2 separate regions of the Homo sapiens genome follow, and region 1 is linked to region 2. Evidence: promoter capture Hi-C in 16 types of primary human blood cells and fetal thymus (Javierre and others, 2016). All regions are on one chromosome and are shown on one strand. Each heading gives the region's core, a stretch centred on a gene start or on the middle of the fragment in contact. The rest is flanking DNA. Distances are from core to core; before and after follow the strand shown.

Region 1 (7,783 bases), core at 345-2,844, 180 kb before region 2:
AATTTTATTTCACCTGTTTCTTTTGTTTTTGACATAGCTGCTGGGAAATGTAAAACTCCACATGGGGCTGGTGTTACATTTCCACTGGACAGTGTTGGTCTAGAAGGCAGGCACTCAGCACCCCTAGCCTGTGCTTATAGCCTCCTATGATAGGGGCCTGAAATGCCAGAGGCTGATGGGTGGACCTGGCTCTTTGCTGACAACTGGCGGGCCAGTGGCGGTCCTCCAGGGAGCCCCCAGCAGAGCAGCAGTCTCAGTGAACGCAGGACGGCCCCTCACTGTGAGCTTCTGCTCCTCTTTCCTACCTGGTGTAAAATAGCAGTGGCGAGTATGTCTGGGTGCTTGTGGAGGTTTACTGGGCAGGCCTGCTCCCTGCCGGACACTGTCCTCAGCCCCTGACACAGACCCTTAGTCCTGGACGCTGAAGCTGGAGGCTTGGCCTGGAGAGAGGAAGGGGCAGTCTCTGTGAGACGGTTAGCTGGGTGGTCCAGGCAAAAAAACATATGAAGGCCTCCAAGGTGGAGAGCACTGACACGGAGCTCTTCCTGGAGGAGGAGGGAATAGGGCTGGGAAGCTGGAATCAGGGGAGAGGAAGCAGATCTGGAGGCAGGGTCCGTAGAGTTTGTTCTGTGGCGTTTGTTCATCAGGCCCCTGCAGGGGTTCCCTGTCAGCATGCCACCAGGCTGGCCAGAGGGTGGGCCAGGCTTCCTCTTCTTACCCTCATAGAGGAGAGGAAGTCACCTCTGTGAGGGGAAGGCCAGACCCCCAGGGCCATGGTGGGCAGTGTGGAGGGAGCTTCAGTCCCACTCACTTCCATGCACAAGGCCTGCCAAGCACACAGCATAGGGTCCGCAAACATGCTCACCACGCTGCCACCCCCTTCCCGTGTTCTACTCACCTCTGAGCCCCACCCTAACCTGGAGTGCTCGCCCGGTGTGCTCGCCAGGGGTGTGCAGCGAGACAGCACTGTCCACTTTCTAGGCCTTCCCAGGGCTGACATGAGGCTGAAGGTGCATCCCCGCCCTGGCACATGTGCCCTTGCTCTCGGCTGCTGGGGAATGGGTCCCACAGCGCCTCCTCCCAGCACAGGCAAAGGCATCTCCTTTTGGGCGCCCACCTGGCTAGCAGAGCACAGGTAAGATGGCTCCAGCAATGGTGGGCTAACTACCGTGTGTCCAGCTGTACTGCAAGCTTCCAGAAGTCAGAGACCCTCAGCCACTACCCAGGTGTTCAGCCTTGGGCAAGCTACCTGGCCTTTCCAAGCCTCTGCCTCCTCCCCTGTAAAAGAAGGTGACAGCCTTGCCCTTTCCCGGCCTCCTGCAAGGACTTCCTGGACCTGACCTCACAGGGTGGCAAGCGTATCCTCCACACCAGGCCTCCCCGGAGGCACAGGGCACATTGACGGCATTGCCAGCAGCCTCGTTACTGCAGGAGCGTCATGCTCCTCATCTCCAGCATCTTCAAGCATGTTGGGCACATAGCAGGTCTCAGAGAACATTTTTCTGGAATCATTGAGCCAAGTACTTACCATGTAAGGTGCTAAAAAGCACTAGGAATGAAGCAGAAAGCTCAAGGCTGATGTCGATGTCACAGTAACCTGGGACCGCAGGCCCCCAGGGCCACAGGAGGAACTGCTGGCTGTCCTTGAGCTGAGGCAGGGTCTTGGTAAGCTCACGAGTCCTCTATCCCCAAACCATGCACAGATGTCTGCTGAGTCCCTGCTGTACCCCAGGCACTGCTAGGAGCTGGGCTGTGGCCGTGAGACAGACAAGCCCAGACTCTGCCTCCGGGGAACATGGATGCTGGCTGGCCACAGAGGTGCCCATACAGAGGGCACCATGCAGTGTCTGCTGGGGACAGGCAGGAGGAGAAGGAGCATTTCTGGCTGAAGTGAACAGTCCACATGAGGCTTCTGCGGGGTGAGCGGCCAGTGGGCGTAGGCTAGTGTGGACTCTGTAGGCTTGCTAAGAGACCCGCAGGTGGTGTCTGGAAGTATAGGAAGCTTCCAGAGGCTTTTCAGCCAGGAGCGATGCAACCAGTTTGGGCCCCAAAGGCTCTCCAGGTTAGGGTTCGAGCTAGGGGCTAGGGAGAGCCAGGGCCCAGGAGGCAGCCTTGGGTGGCCTAGGAGAAAGAGGCGCTGAACCCAGGAGAGTCCCCAAGAACCCGGGAGAGTCCCCGAGGGCACAACCCCAGCACAGCACGGGGTTCACACACAGCAGGCAGGAGACAGTCCTGAGCATTGAGTGATGATTTAAGTGGTGGACATGGACTTGGTGGCCTGGGGACTGTAGATAGGGAAGAGAAAAGGGCCCGGGTGGAGCTGGGAAGAGCTCCAGTATTCGATGCCAGGCCAGTCGTGGCATTAACTCCTGGCAAAGTATCCGATGCCAGGCTGGCCATGGTATTGACTCCTGGCAAAGTGGCCCAACAACCCCCTTCTCCCCTCTGAGCAGCCGTCTCCCTGTCTGAAAAGTCACCAGGCTGGATGGCATCAACTCTACAGGCCTTCCTGCTCCTCTGAGGGCAGGTGACTCCTCGTGGTTTGACACGGACCGGGAATCACATAGCCCTGGCTCAGTGAATGGGCGAACTTGGCTAAGTCGCCTAACCTCTTTGAGCCCCAGCTTCCTCATGTGTAAAACAGGATAATAGCAGTGTCGCGGGGGATGGCCCTGGGCGTGGGGTGAGGGCCATTTCTGCCCTGTGGTCACTCGGGAGGACCTGTGGGGCGCTGGCAGAGCAGTGCCACCAGGGGGAGGCAGAGAGCCGCCTCTGAGTCGGCCAAAGTAACAGGTGCACGCTTGCCAGGTGAGGTTGCTCCCATCTGTCGTCTCAGCATTTTGGGAGGCCAAAGTGGGAGGATCACTTGAACCTAGGGGTTTGAGACCAGCCTGGGCAACATAGCAAGATTCCATCTCCACAAAAAGAAAAAAAAGTAAAGTTATACACTTTTCTTTTTTTTTTTTGAGACCGAGTCTCACTGTATCCCCCAGGCTGGAGTGCAGTGGTGCAATCTCAGCTCACTGCAACCTCCTCCTTCCGAATTCAAGCAATTCTCCTGCCTCAGCCCCCCCAAGTAGCTGAGATTCTAGGTGCCCACCATGGTGCCCAGCTAATTTTTGTATTTTTAGTGGAGAGGGGGGTTTCACCAGTTGACCAGGCTGGTGTGGAACTCCTGACCACAGGTGATCCTCTCGCCTCGGCCTCCCGAAGTGCTGGGATGACAGGTGTGAGCCACCACGCCTGGCCGTAGTTATAACTTTTCTAAGGTTCATTTTATTAAATGGAAAAATGCCAAACAGAACGACAAAGGCTGTGGTAGAATGTGCACGTTTGTGTGGACCCAGGGCACATTTTCACCAGAAAATCCCGTGCGATAGAGTGGAAGATATACCAAAAGCCACAGCAAATATCACGCGTGACTCCGCAGAAAATTATAGATTCCTAACAAACACTGAGAGTGTGTCCTGTGCTGTAAGGTCCAGGGATGGGCCACAAGTTCAAGGTTGTGTGAAGAACAACGGAAACCCACCTCTGAGGCCCTGGGCACCTGGCACCTGTCGTGTTGGGCATGAATAAAGCTTCGCAGCTCAGTCCTGCAATCTCCATGAGCCTAGACTTGTCCATCTTAAAATGTAGACGGTTAGGACACCTGCTGAAGGGGCCGCCAGGCTTAACTGTGCCAACACGGCATGCAGGTGGAGAACAAAGAATGCGATTGAAAACCTCCTAACGATAACAAGAGCTGTTCCCTTTCTGAGCCCTCACCCCATGCCCAGCGTGCACCAGCAGCTCACCATCGCAGGCCCAGGGCCAGCACCCAGGTCCCCACTTGACCCACGAGGACACTGAGGTACAGCAACAGCCAGGACAGCAGCCGCCAGGTGGAAAGCAAAGACACAAAGCAGCCAGATCGGGAGTCACGTCGGGGCAGGCGACTGAGGCGCCACCCAGCCACCTTCAAGATGCAGATTGAAGAACAGCCTTTCCCAAAGCTCGCTCACTCACTGACCCTGCGTCTTCGTCTGCAAAGCCTGAGTAACGTGGGAGGCCCTGCAACGCCCCCTCTGAGAGACCTCCACTAACGCCAGCACTTTTTTTTTTTTTTTTTTTTTTTTTTTTTTTTTTTGTGAGAGTGTCTTGCTCTGTCGCCCAGGCTGGAGTGCAGAGGCATGATCTCTGCTCACTGCAAGCTCCGCCTCCCAGGTTCACGCCATTCTCCTGCCTCAGCCTCCCAAGTAGCTAGGACTACAGGCGCCTGCCACCACGCCCGGCTAATTTTTTGTATTTTTTAGTAGAGACGGGGTTTCACCGTGTTAGCCAGGATGGTCTCAATCTCCTGACCTTGTGATCCACCCGCCTCAGCCTCCCAAAGTGCTGGGATTACAGGCGTGAGCCACCACGCCTGGCCAACGCCAGCACTTTCAACGCACCGGGACCAAGCTGGACCCGGTTTTGTTTTGAAACACTTTTACTTTTGCAGACGAATACGTCGGTGTCCCACCAGGAACCGCTGCTGGTGGATGCTCACCACGGGAAACAGCCGCGTGACGCTCCCCCTTGTCTGCCTCTGCCCAGTGCTGCCCCCTCCAGCAGAGCTCCTCATGTGTGGTTCGTGGATTTGGGTCCACGATGAGATAAGGAGCCACACAGAACGAAATCAGTCCACCGCTGAGCACGCAGTTGAGCCCCACGGACACCCTTTGCAAGTGAGACTTTTGGGATGAAGGCAGCACAGGCCTGTCGATCCCTGGAGCAGCCCGGGGGCTACGGCACCGTGCTTCCCTCTTGGATGGAGGCAGCCCTGCCTGCCGGGGGCCTGATTTGTGGGCCCTGATGAGTTGGTGCCTCCGGGCTCTTGGGACCCTCCTTTGCTCTATCCAGAGGGACGCAGCGCCACACTCGGGGTTCACGCCGGCAGCGGCGTGGAGTGAGTCACCAGGCTGAAGATACACTTGGTGTTTTCCTGCGCTGGGTGGAACTGTCTGGAGCCCCCTTGGCATCCTGCTGAAGAGTCCGAATCTGGACGTGAGCCTCCTGGAGATACTGAACACCTTTTAAAGTGTGGCCAGGCCCAATCTAGGGTGCTGTGAGTGTACTGTACATCCTGGGTTTCAAAGACACAGTACCAAAAACAAACAAACAAAAAGAATATAAAACATCTCATTCACGGCCGGGCGTGGTGGCTTACGCCTATAATCCCAGCACTTTGGGAGGCCGAGGTGGGCCGATCACGAGGTCAAGAGATCAAGACCAGCCTGGCCAACATGGTGAAACCCCCTCTCTACTAAAAATACAAAAATTAGCTGGGCGTGGTGGCAGGTGCCTGTAATCCCAGCTACTCGGGAGGCTGAGGCAGGAGAATCGCTTGAACCCGGGAGGCGGAAGTTGCAGTGAGCTGAGATCGCACCACTGCACTCCAGCCTGGGTGACAGAGGGAGACTCTGTCTCAAAAAACAAAAAACAACAAAAAAAAACTCATTCACTTTTTATGTTGTGTTAAAATAATATTTTTGATATATTGGATTAACTAAGCTGTAGTATTAATATACACTTTGCCTGTTTCTTTTTACCTTTTTAATGTGGCTACTGAAATATTTAAAGTTGCATATGTGGCCAGGCGCAGTGGCCCACACCTGTAATCCCAGCACTCTGGGAGGCCAAGGTGAGGAGAGGACTGCATGAGCTCAGGAGTTCGAGACCAACCTGGGCAACAAAGTGAGACCCCATCTCTGCAAAAAATAACAAAAAAATTGGGTGGGTGAGGTGGTGTGCACCTGTAATCCCAGCTGCTAGAGAGACCAAGGTGGGAGGATCACCTGGGCCCAGGAGGTTGAGGCTGCAATAAGCTATCATGGCACCACTGCACTCCAGCCTGGGTGACAGAGCAAGACCCTGTCTCAAAAACTTTTTTTAATTAAAAAAAAAAAATAACATATTGAGGTGAGACTCACAGAACCTAAAATTAACCACTTTAAAGTGTACGAGTTAGGCCAGGTGCAGTGGCTCACGCCTGTAACCTCAGCACTTTAAGAGGCCGAGGCGGGTGGATCACTTGAGATCAGGAGTTTGAAACCAGCCTGGCCAACATGGTGAAACCCAATCTCTACTAAAAATACAAAAAAATTAGCCGGGTGTGGTGGTAGGGGCCTGTAATCCCAGTTACTTTGGAGGCTGAGGCAGGAGAATCACTTGAACACAGAGGCGGAGGTTGCAGTGAGCCAAGATCACGCCACCACATTCCAGCCTGGGTGACAGAGCGAGACTCCGTCTCAAAAAAAAAAAAAAAAAGTGTCCGCGTTATTGGCATTTAGTGCACTCGAAGGGCTGTGCACGCACCACCTCTCCCTGGGCCCAGAACATTTGCGTCACTCCAAAGTAAAACCCCGGGCCGTCTTCATCCACGTCCCTACAAAGGACATGAACTCATCATTTTTTATGGCTGCATAGTATTCCATGGTATATATGTGCCACATTTTCTTAATCTAGTCTATCATTGTTGGACATTTGGGTTGGTTCCAAGTCTTTGCTATTGTGAACAGTGCCACAATAAACTAAAACTTAAAGTATAAAAACAAAACAAAACAAAAAAAAACCCCGGGCCGTTTAGCAGCCACTCCCCTTTCCTCCTCCCCCCGGCTCTGGGAACCATCAATCTACTTTCTGTCTCCATGGGTTCGGTGACCACAGGCACCCCATAGAAATGGAGTCACTGCACCTGCGGCCCTTTGCGGCCGGCACCCTTCACTGAGCACCGTGCTTCCAAGGCTTGTCCGCATGGTGGGTGTCAGCGCCTCCTTTTCTACGGTGGAATCATATTCCCTCGTGCGCATTCGTCAGGGTTCTTCCGGCAAGCGGAGCCCATAAGACGTGCCACTGGAGAGGTTATTGCAGGGAATTGGCCACACGACCTCGAGGCCTGCAGTTCCCAGGGTCTGCAGTTGCAGGCAGGAGGCCTGATGGCGTTGCGAGTCCGAAGGCCGGTGGGCTCCAGGCCCAGGAAGAGCCCACGTTTTCAGTCCAAGTCTGAAGGCAGGAAAAGACCAATGTCCAGTGCAAGCGGTTGGGTGGGAGGACCCCTGGCACTCGGCCTATTGTTCTCCCCAGGCCTCAGCGGACCGCACGGGGCCCACCCACACTGGGGAGGGCGGACTGCCTTACCCGGGCTGTGGATGCAAATGCGAACCTCATCCAGAACACCTCAGAGACACACTCCGTTTGGCGAAATGGCCCGGCCAAGCTGACACTAAGGTTCACCGTCACAGCAGACGGTTTTGCTGACCCGTCGTTGGCAGTGGACGCTCAGGCTGTCTGTGGCTGTACTGAGTGATGCCGGGACAGCAAGTGGCCACGTGCGTTTGTTTGAGTCCCTGTTTTCACTTCTTTCGGACAGACCCCCAGGAGTGGAATTTCAGGGTGCTGGGAGTTTTATGGGCAGGACTCCGGCTGGGTCACCCCCTTTGAAGACAAGAGTCAGGCCACTCACTGCAGTTCCACGGTGGCCCCTCCTGGTCCTGGTGCCCAGCGCTGGCTGGCAGACGCAGCCCCCAGCCATAGTAGAGGCCTCGGGCTCACATCCCTCCTTGGAGAGACTGGGCCCAGGGCAGGCAGTGCTTTGCAATCCAAAGAGGGATCTCAGACTCCCCACCGCTCTGGTTTGAAGCCACTGGCCTGCCCTGAAGGTCTGGGGCTGGGCAGAGGCCCAGGCAGTGGGGAGAGAAGGGGCCCACCCTTGTGTGAGGCTGGCAGCTCTATTCAGGGGCAGGGCCCCAGGACCAGGCCG
Region 2 (6,820 bases), core at 1,524-4,023:
GGCCTTGGGCACAGAGTGTGCTCCACCCATACCAGAACCCGGGGGCAGCCCCAACCCCCTGGACCCCCAGTACCCTCTGGCGTCCAAGAACCCATGTCTGTCCCCTGCCAACCCCCCGCCCCTCCTGTCCCCGCTGGGCCCCCGACATTAGGGCAAGGCCGCAGCCCACCTCCTGTACCTGCCTCTGAGGCTCCAGGAGCCCAAGAGAGTGGAGTGCCCCTCCTGTGGTGGCTCCAGGCTATGGGATAGGGCAAAGCTGGCACTCTGGGCCTGAGCCCAGGCCTCCTTCCCTTGGGGAGGGTCTAGTCTTGGCCTGGGGAGGGGCTGGGGGCAGGGCAGAGCTTATCAGGAGGGGGTTGCAGTGAAGAACAAGTTGGCAGCAGGCGGTGCCCAGCCCCCCAGGCTGTCACCCAGGAGTCCAGTGCCAGGAGGACAGCCTGGGGAGGACGCAGACTCTGCCCTCGCCCCTTGCCTGTAAGCACAGCAGTCAGTTCACCGGGAAGGCCCCCAGCGGGCCAAGCCTTAGCAACTCGTGCACTCGGCTACTTAGCTATTCCTGCCCCGAGCTGTCCCCTGGCCGGATAGGTCTGATGACAGGGGCTGCTCCAGGTTGGGACATAGGACAAGCTGGGGTGGGGGACATGGGGCTCCCCAAGAAGAGGAAGGAAGGGTGAGGCAGCCTCCTGTGCCGAGCATCCCAGCCCTGTCCGGCCTCCAGGCTCACCTGGGCCGGTCACTTCTCCCTCTGGGCCTCAGTTTCCCCCTCTGTACACAGAAAGGGCTGGATCTAGCCCACCCCATGCTTGTGGGTCCTTCCACCAGGAGGCCAGGGCAGATCCAGGGGCATGCAGGTGGGGGAGGAGGGGGCAGGCCGCAGGGATGCAGGCAGAGGGCAAGAGGGCACCTCCTGGGATGGGGGCACAAGCCTACTGGGCCCCTATACGGTGGAGTAGCTAAGTAGCCGAGTGCACGAGTTGCTAAGGCTTGGCCCGCTGGGGGCCTTCCCGGTGAACTGACTGCTGTGCTTACAGCCAGGGGCGAGGGCAGAGTCTGGGTCCTCCCCAGGCTGTCCTCCTGGCACTGGACTCCTGGGTGACAGCCTGGGGGACTGGGCCCGGCCTGCTGCCAACTTGTTCTTCACTGCAACCCCCTCCTGACAGCTGGAGGGACAGGCTGGCCAGGGCAGGATGAGCCCCTGGGTGGGAGAGCCAGGGGGCCGAGGGAGGCACAGGGCGGCTGAGGGTGCAGCCAGTAGGGTAAGGGCCAGATCCCAGGGTGGCCTAGTGTGGAGGAGGTGGGGAAATGGGGTTCTGCCTATCTGCTCCAACCTCAGGGCAGGGGCCACCTCTGGAAAGAGGCCCCTCCCGCTCAGACCAGCGGTGCCTGGGTGCCAGGAGCGCCCCCTTAAACCAGCTCAGTGACCATGAAGCAGGTGCAGAAACAGGCCCGGAGAAGAGTGAGGTCCTGCCTGGCTGAGGCCCTGAGCCCTGACCACAGCCTGGCGCCCAGAGCAGACCCTTCCCCTGGCCGTGGGTAGAGGGGAGCTGGTTCCTGCTTGAGGGGGAGGCGCATCGCGTGTGGGTGAGGTTTCCACCTGCCCTCCAAAGTCCCGTGGGGAATTTCCCCAGCTGCCCCAGCCTCCCTTGGCTCAAGTTGCCCAGCTGAGTGGGGCTGGAGAGGTGGGGGCACACTGACCGCCCAGGGCCAGGGAAATGGGGGTGTCCCAGGCATCAGGCCGACAGGGGCTGACCCCAAAGCAGGGCTCACACCCCACGGACAGCGGGGTTGGGAGAGGCCCTGCTCTCCTGGGGTTCCAGGCGTGCCCTCCAAAGCCACCCAGCTCCCTTCGGCACCGTGTCCCCTCCCACCCAGCCCACCTTTGCCACAGTGGCTCGCTCGGCCTGAGGCTCCCACTGCCGTGTGAACAGGGAAGATGAGGGTCAGACCTGGAGGCTGGGACGCCGGGAATCTGACAGAGCACCCCCTGTGATCACCCACAGTGTCCCGCATCCCTCCCCACACCCCCGGCCGCAGCCTGCTGCCAGCCCAGAGCACCCCTGTGAAGTGGGGCTGAGGGCATTGGGCCTGCTTGCCCATCTCCAGGGCAGGGGCTCACAGCCTCACTGGCAGCTCTTTTAGGGGAGAGAGCTTGGACTCCATGCTTGTCCCCTCCCGTCACCCCCTCACCATGGGCCTCAGGGACCCACGGAACAGGCTGTTCTCGGACCGCTCAGCCTGTCTTGCCACCCCAGTCCCTTCCTGCCGGGCCTCGCCACTCGCCATCCCTCACTGGTCAAGGCTCCTGTGTGGCTGGTCCCTGCCTTGGCCTGGGGCCCCTCCAAGCTCCCGTGCTGTGTCACACACATCTGGGGGTGTCCTGGGGGAGGGCCCAGCATCCTTGGCCCAAAGATGCAGCAGCTCCCTTCTGTCCAGCCACACGTGAGCATGGCCTGTGAACCCACGGTCCTGGGAGGGCCCTGGGCTTGCGTCCTCCACCCCACACTCTCCCCAGGGTCTCCAGCAGGGTCCAGCCCTGGTTTCTGGCTGTTTTGGGGCTAGACTCTGATGGCCCAGGGGACGGCTTCCCCACCCCTGGGCAGTTTGTCCAGGCCCCCTCACACGGTGGCCCCCACCCCCCTCAGCCTCCTGTTTGTCCGACGACACGTCCCCGTTATCAGCGGAGAACACACACAGGAAGTCCGGCTGGGAAGGGCCCATCCCAATCCCGATTACCCAGGACGGAGCATAAAAAGCCGCCCTTCCTCGCCCGGGGGGAGCCTCCCTGCACCAAGCTGGCCCTGCACGGCTGCAAGGGAGGCTCCTGTGGACAGGCCAGGCAGGTGGGCCTCAGGAGGTGCCTCCAGGCGGCCAGTGGGCCTGAGGCCCCAGCAAGGGCTAGGGTCCATCTCCAGTCCCAGGACACAGCAGCGGCCACCATGGCCACGCCTGGGCTCCAGCAGCATCAGGTATGGCAGGGGTGGCCTCGGAGGGGCAGGGAGCGGACAGGGCGGGCCCCCCATTCCCCTCACTCCCGCTGACCGTGGCGCCTGCTGGCTGCTCCGCAATCTGCTCCCCAGCGAGGTCACAGGGGAGGGGTCCCAGTCTCCTCCCCTTCTGCACAGAGGAGGCCACTGAGGCCCCTTGGCCAAACGCCTGCTAGTGGGTGGCCCAGCGTAGATCCCAATCCAGTCTGCTGACTCCAACACTTCACCCCCAGTCGCCCTTCCCCTGAACCCCACCCTCTGGCCTTTCTCTCCCTCCGCAGAGCAGCCCCTGTGGTTGGCAGCAAAGTTCAGCTTGGCTGGGCCCGCTGTGAGGGGCTTCGCGCTACGCCCTGCGGTGTCCCGAGGGCTGAGGTCTCCTCATCTTCTCCCTAGCAGTGGATGAGCAACCCAACGGGGGCCCGGGGAGGGGAACTGGCCCCGAGGGAGAGGAACCCCAAAGCCACATCTGTAGCCAGGATGAGCAGTGTGAATCCAGGGTGCGGGACGTGGGGCTCGGGCTTAGGGATGACTTGCTGGGTGCGGTGGGCAAATGGGTGACTCTGTGGGCCCCCCTTGGACCCTGGAGACGCCCTTGTTCTCCCTCTCCCCAGCCTCATGCAGAGTGGCTGAAGCCCCATCCCAAAGCCCCCAAAACCACAGTGGGTCCTAGAAGGCCCCACTTTTTGTCTCATACGTCCACACCAAGAAGCCTGTCTGAGAACCCCCACTTTCCAAATGGTGCCTAGCCAGGATGGGGGCAGCGAGGGCTGAGTCGGGGCAGCCCTGGAGCTGCCCTTTCTGCTCCATCGCCTCTTCCAGACTCAGGCAGGAGAGGTGGGGAGGCAGGTCAAAGGGTTAAGTGACCGCAGATCCAGAGATGAGGCCAGGGGCAGGGGACAGGGAGGGTGGCGGTGGCTCTCCCACCCAGAGGCCCCCTAGGCCCCACTCTGAACACTTCACTGCTGGGGGCTAGGTAAGAGCTGCCCTGCGTGGGCTCAGGGCGCCAGGAGGCCTAGGACTCCCCAGTCAGATGAGGAACGCCCCCTGACAGCAGCTGCTCTGGTCGTCCCTTGGACCACGTGCCAGGGGCTTCCAGGGCCCCTGGTCCAGAGCAGTGGCCACTGGATTGCAGGGTGGGGCGGCCTCATTTTGGGGACTCCTCTCCAGGGACCTGGGCCCCTCCCTTCCTCCAGCTCCCATGCACCAAGGTAGGACCAAGCTGGTGGCCCTCTCGGACCCATCTGCAGGCCCCTTGCCCAGCACCCTGGGTTACATGGAGAGACCTCCAGCTCCACTCACAGCAGCCTCCCATCCCCATGCCAGGGAGTCCAGGGCTGGAGGCAATAACCCCATTTTACTGAGGCCAGGGGCTGCGGATCCGAGAGGACAATCAGCTCAGGACAGGATGGGGTCGGGGTAGGTGCAGGACAGGGGCCTGTAGGCCTAGTGCAGGCGGAGGTCCCACAGCAGCACCGAAAGCTGGTCCCGGGCCCCTTCCCAGCCCCCAGACATCAGGGTGACCAGGACTGTGCATAGGCACTAACCCACAACTCCTCTCCAACCAGCAGCCCCCAGGACCGGGGAGGCACAGGTGGCCCCCACCACCCGGAGGAGCAGCTCCTGCCCCTGTCCGGGGGATGACTGATTCTCCTCCGCCAGGTGAGTCCCAGCAAACCCCTTGCTCCGAGGGAACACTTCTCACACCGGCGCCCACGCGGGTTATGACACAGGGCGCTGGCTCCGGCTGGGGTCTGAGGGGCTGCTGAATTGGGCTGGCCCGAGCCCCACGTGCCGCGCCCGCAGTAACAGCTGTAACAATTGTTGTGTGGCCACGACCTCACCGTCACTAGATCCCAGGGCTGTTTAGCCCCATCTTATAAATTTGGAAATGGAGGCCTGGAGAAGAGAGGTGACCAGCCCAGGGACCTCTGGTGTGAGGAGACTCTCTGGGGGCCTGTGGATTCGCTGGGAGGAGTGTTCTGCGATGGCCCTGACTGTGCTGAACTCAGCAGTGACCCAGTGACCCCGGTGAGGGTGCCTGATGCCTGAGAGAGGGCCAGGTGGGGGCCGGCGCAGGGGCCCCCAACCTAACACGCTAAGGCTAGGAGGCAGGCCTGGGCTCTGCCATGTGGTCTCAGAGGAGATCTGGGTCTCTGGGCCTGCGGTGGGGACGGTCATGATGCCCACTGCCTGCGAGGCTGCAGGACCCAGCTCAGTGCTAACCTGCGCCGGGCGCCTACCGCGCGGCCCCCCAGCGGCTGAGATGGGCGTCCCGGGGTGGTTTTCAGCCTGGGGGGCTTGAAAGCTAGCAAAGGGCCCGCAGCCCCGTCAGTGTGGGCGCCCTGGGCGGCCTCTCCTGGCTCCTGGCGGCCGGGCTTGGTCGTGCGTCCCCAGCGACCGCGCAGCGAGCGCCCTGCCGCGGGGACTCGGGCCCCAGGATTCCCGGAGGGGGTGCTGGCGGGCCGCGGCTCAGAGGCGCGTTTGCGTCAGCCCCGGGTTCCAGCAGAGTCACTGCCCGCCCGGGGGCAGCTCGTCCGCCGCGGGGCCTCAGTTTCCCCGTCTGCGCAATGGGGGCGGGGCGGGGCCGCCAGGTGGGGCGGGGCCGGGGGCGGGGCGGGGCGGGGCTCGGGGCCCCCACGGCGCGGGCTCGGGCGGCAGTGGCGGCGGCGCGTGCGCGCCCCGGATCCGGCGGTGAGTGCGGAGCGAGCGGGGCGCGCCGGGGTCGGGGTCCGGTCGCCGCCCGGGCTGGGTCGAGGGCGGGACCCGCGGAGCCCCCGGGGGCGGGGAACCTGGCCGCGCGCGGAGCTGGGGGCGGCTCCGGGACGAGGCAGCGCGACCGCTGGGGCCGGGGGCGGAGCGGGCCGGGGCGCCCGCGGCTGGGTCGGGCCGGGCCGGGAGAATGGGCCCAGCGGCCCCGGGAACCGGCTCCCCCTGCCGGCGGCGGGCGGGCGGGCGGCGCGGCGGGGAGGGCCGGGGTCGCCGCGGCCCCTCGTCCGACCCGGCGCGACTCAGCGCCTCGGGGCCCAGCCTGTGCCGCCTGCTCCGCCCCCCGCGAACCCCGGAGCCAGCAGCGCGGCTGGGAGGGGGCGGCGGGCAGGTCCGTCTCGCTCCGCCTCTGCGCCCTCCCTCGTGGGCCCCGCGGTCCCCAGCCCTGCTCCCGCCGCGAGGGGTCCGCCAGTGCCTGCGGCGCAGCCAGGCCCCTCCCTCTGCGGACCCGGCCTCTCGCGGGTGGGGGCTGCGGGGCTGCTGCCGGGCAGGTGGGGAGGGAGCCCGTGGGCGCTGGGGGCACGGGGACCGGACTGCTGGTCCACCTGGCGCCGCCGCCCCCTCCCCGCCCGGCACCCCTGGGTCGAGGCCGTGGCCCCCCCCGGGGAAATGGGGCTTGCAGCACCGGCTCGGAGAGCACCACGGGCTTCCTCTGGCCTCGGGAAAACATGACTTTCAAAAATTGAGTCTCCACTTAGCACCGCTTCCTGTCCAGGCGACTCTCAGGAATTGTGGGGGGGAGCTGTGCCAATATGTGTGGGGGGCAATGAGGTCTGGGAGATTCGCCTACCCCCAGGCCCGCCCTGGCATCCCCCTGCCCACATCAAGCCGCCGGGCCGCTGCCCTACCTCTTCCTTCCCGGGTCCCACTCCCCAATGTCCCCCGACTTCGAGTCTTGCCTTGAGGTCGCACCAGACCCAGCCCCTAACAGTGTCCTTCATCCAGGGCCCATCCCCAGAGTTAATCTCCAGCCAGCTCTGCCCCCTCGACAAACTCCTGCCCAAAAACTGCTGTGATGCCCCCCCTGCCCCCAAGCTAAGTCCCCACCCCTCAGCTGCCCAGGGCAGCCT

What was found. The method cuts DNA at HindIII sites, captures the fragments that hold promoters and counts their contacts. A CHiCAGO score of 5 or more calls a contact.
Region 1: a fragment that was not itself captured here is called in contact with the fragment with the promoter of EGFL7 in region 2 in 13 of 17 cell types (M1 macrophages, activated CD4 T cells, M0 macrophages and 10 more); the score reaches 9.9 in M1 macrophages.

Annotation. Positions count from the first base shown.
Region 1 is chr9:136,486,061-136,493,843 of GRCh38, forward strand. It overlaps C9orf163 (chromosome 9 putative open reading frame 163), which reads left to right. Exons shown (of 1, transcript NR_172629.1): 1 at 1-7. Among named protein-coding and RNA genes, the nearest start is that of C9orf163, 6.5 kb to the left of the region's middle. RefSeq lists a silencer at 2,801-2,850. The HindIII fragment of the contact is 811 bases long and covers 1,190-2,000 here.
Region 2 is chr9:136,660,143-136,666,962 of GRCh38, forward strand. It overlaps EGFL7 (EGF like domain multiple 7), which reads left to right and starts at 2,774. Exons shown (of 11, transcript NM_016215.5): 1 at 2,774-2,966; 2 at 3,266-3,481; 3 at 4,550-4,643. LNCEGFL7OS (lncRNA EGFL7 opposite strand) reads right to left here and starts at 279. Exons shown (of 2, transcript NR_135132.1): 1 at 179-279. The HindIII fragment of the contact is 14,697 bases long and covers 1-6,820 here.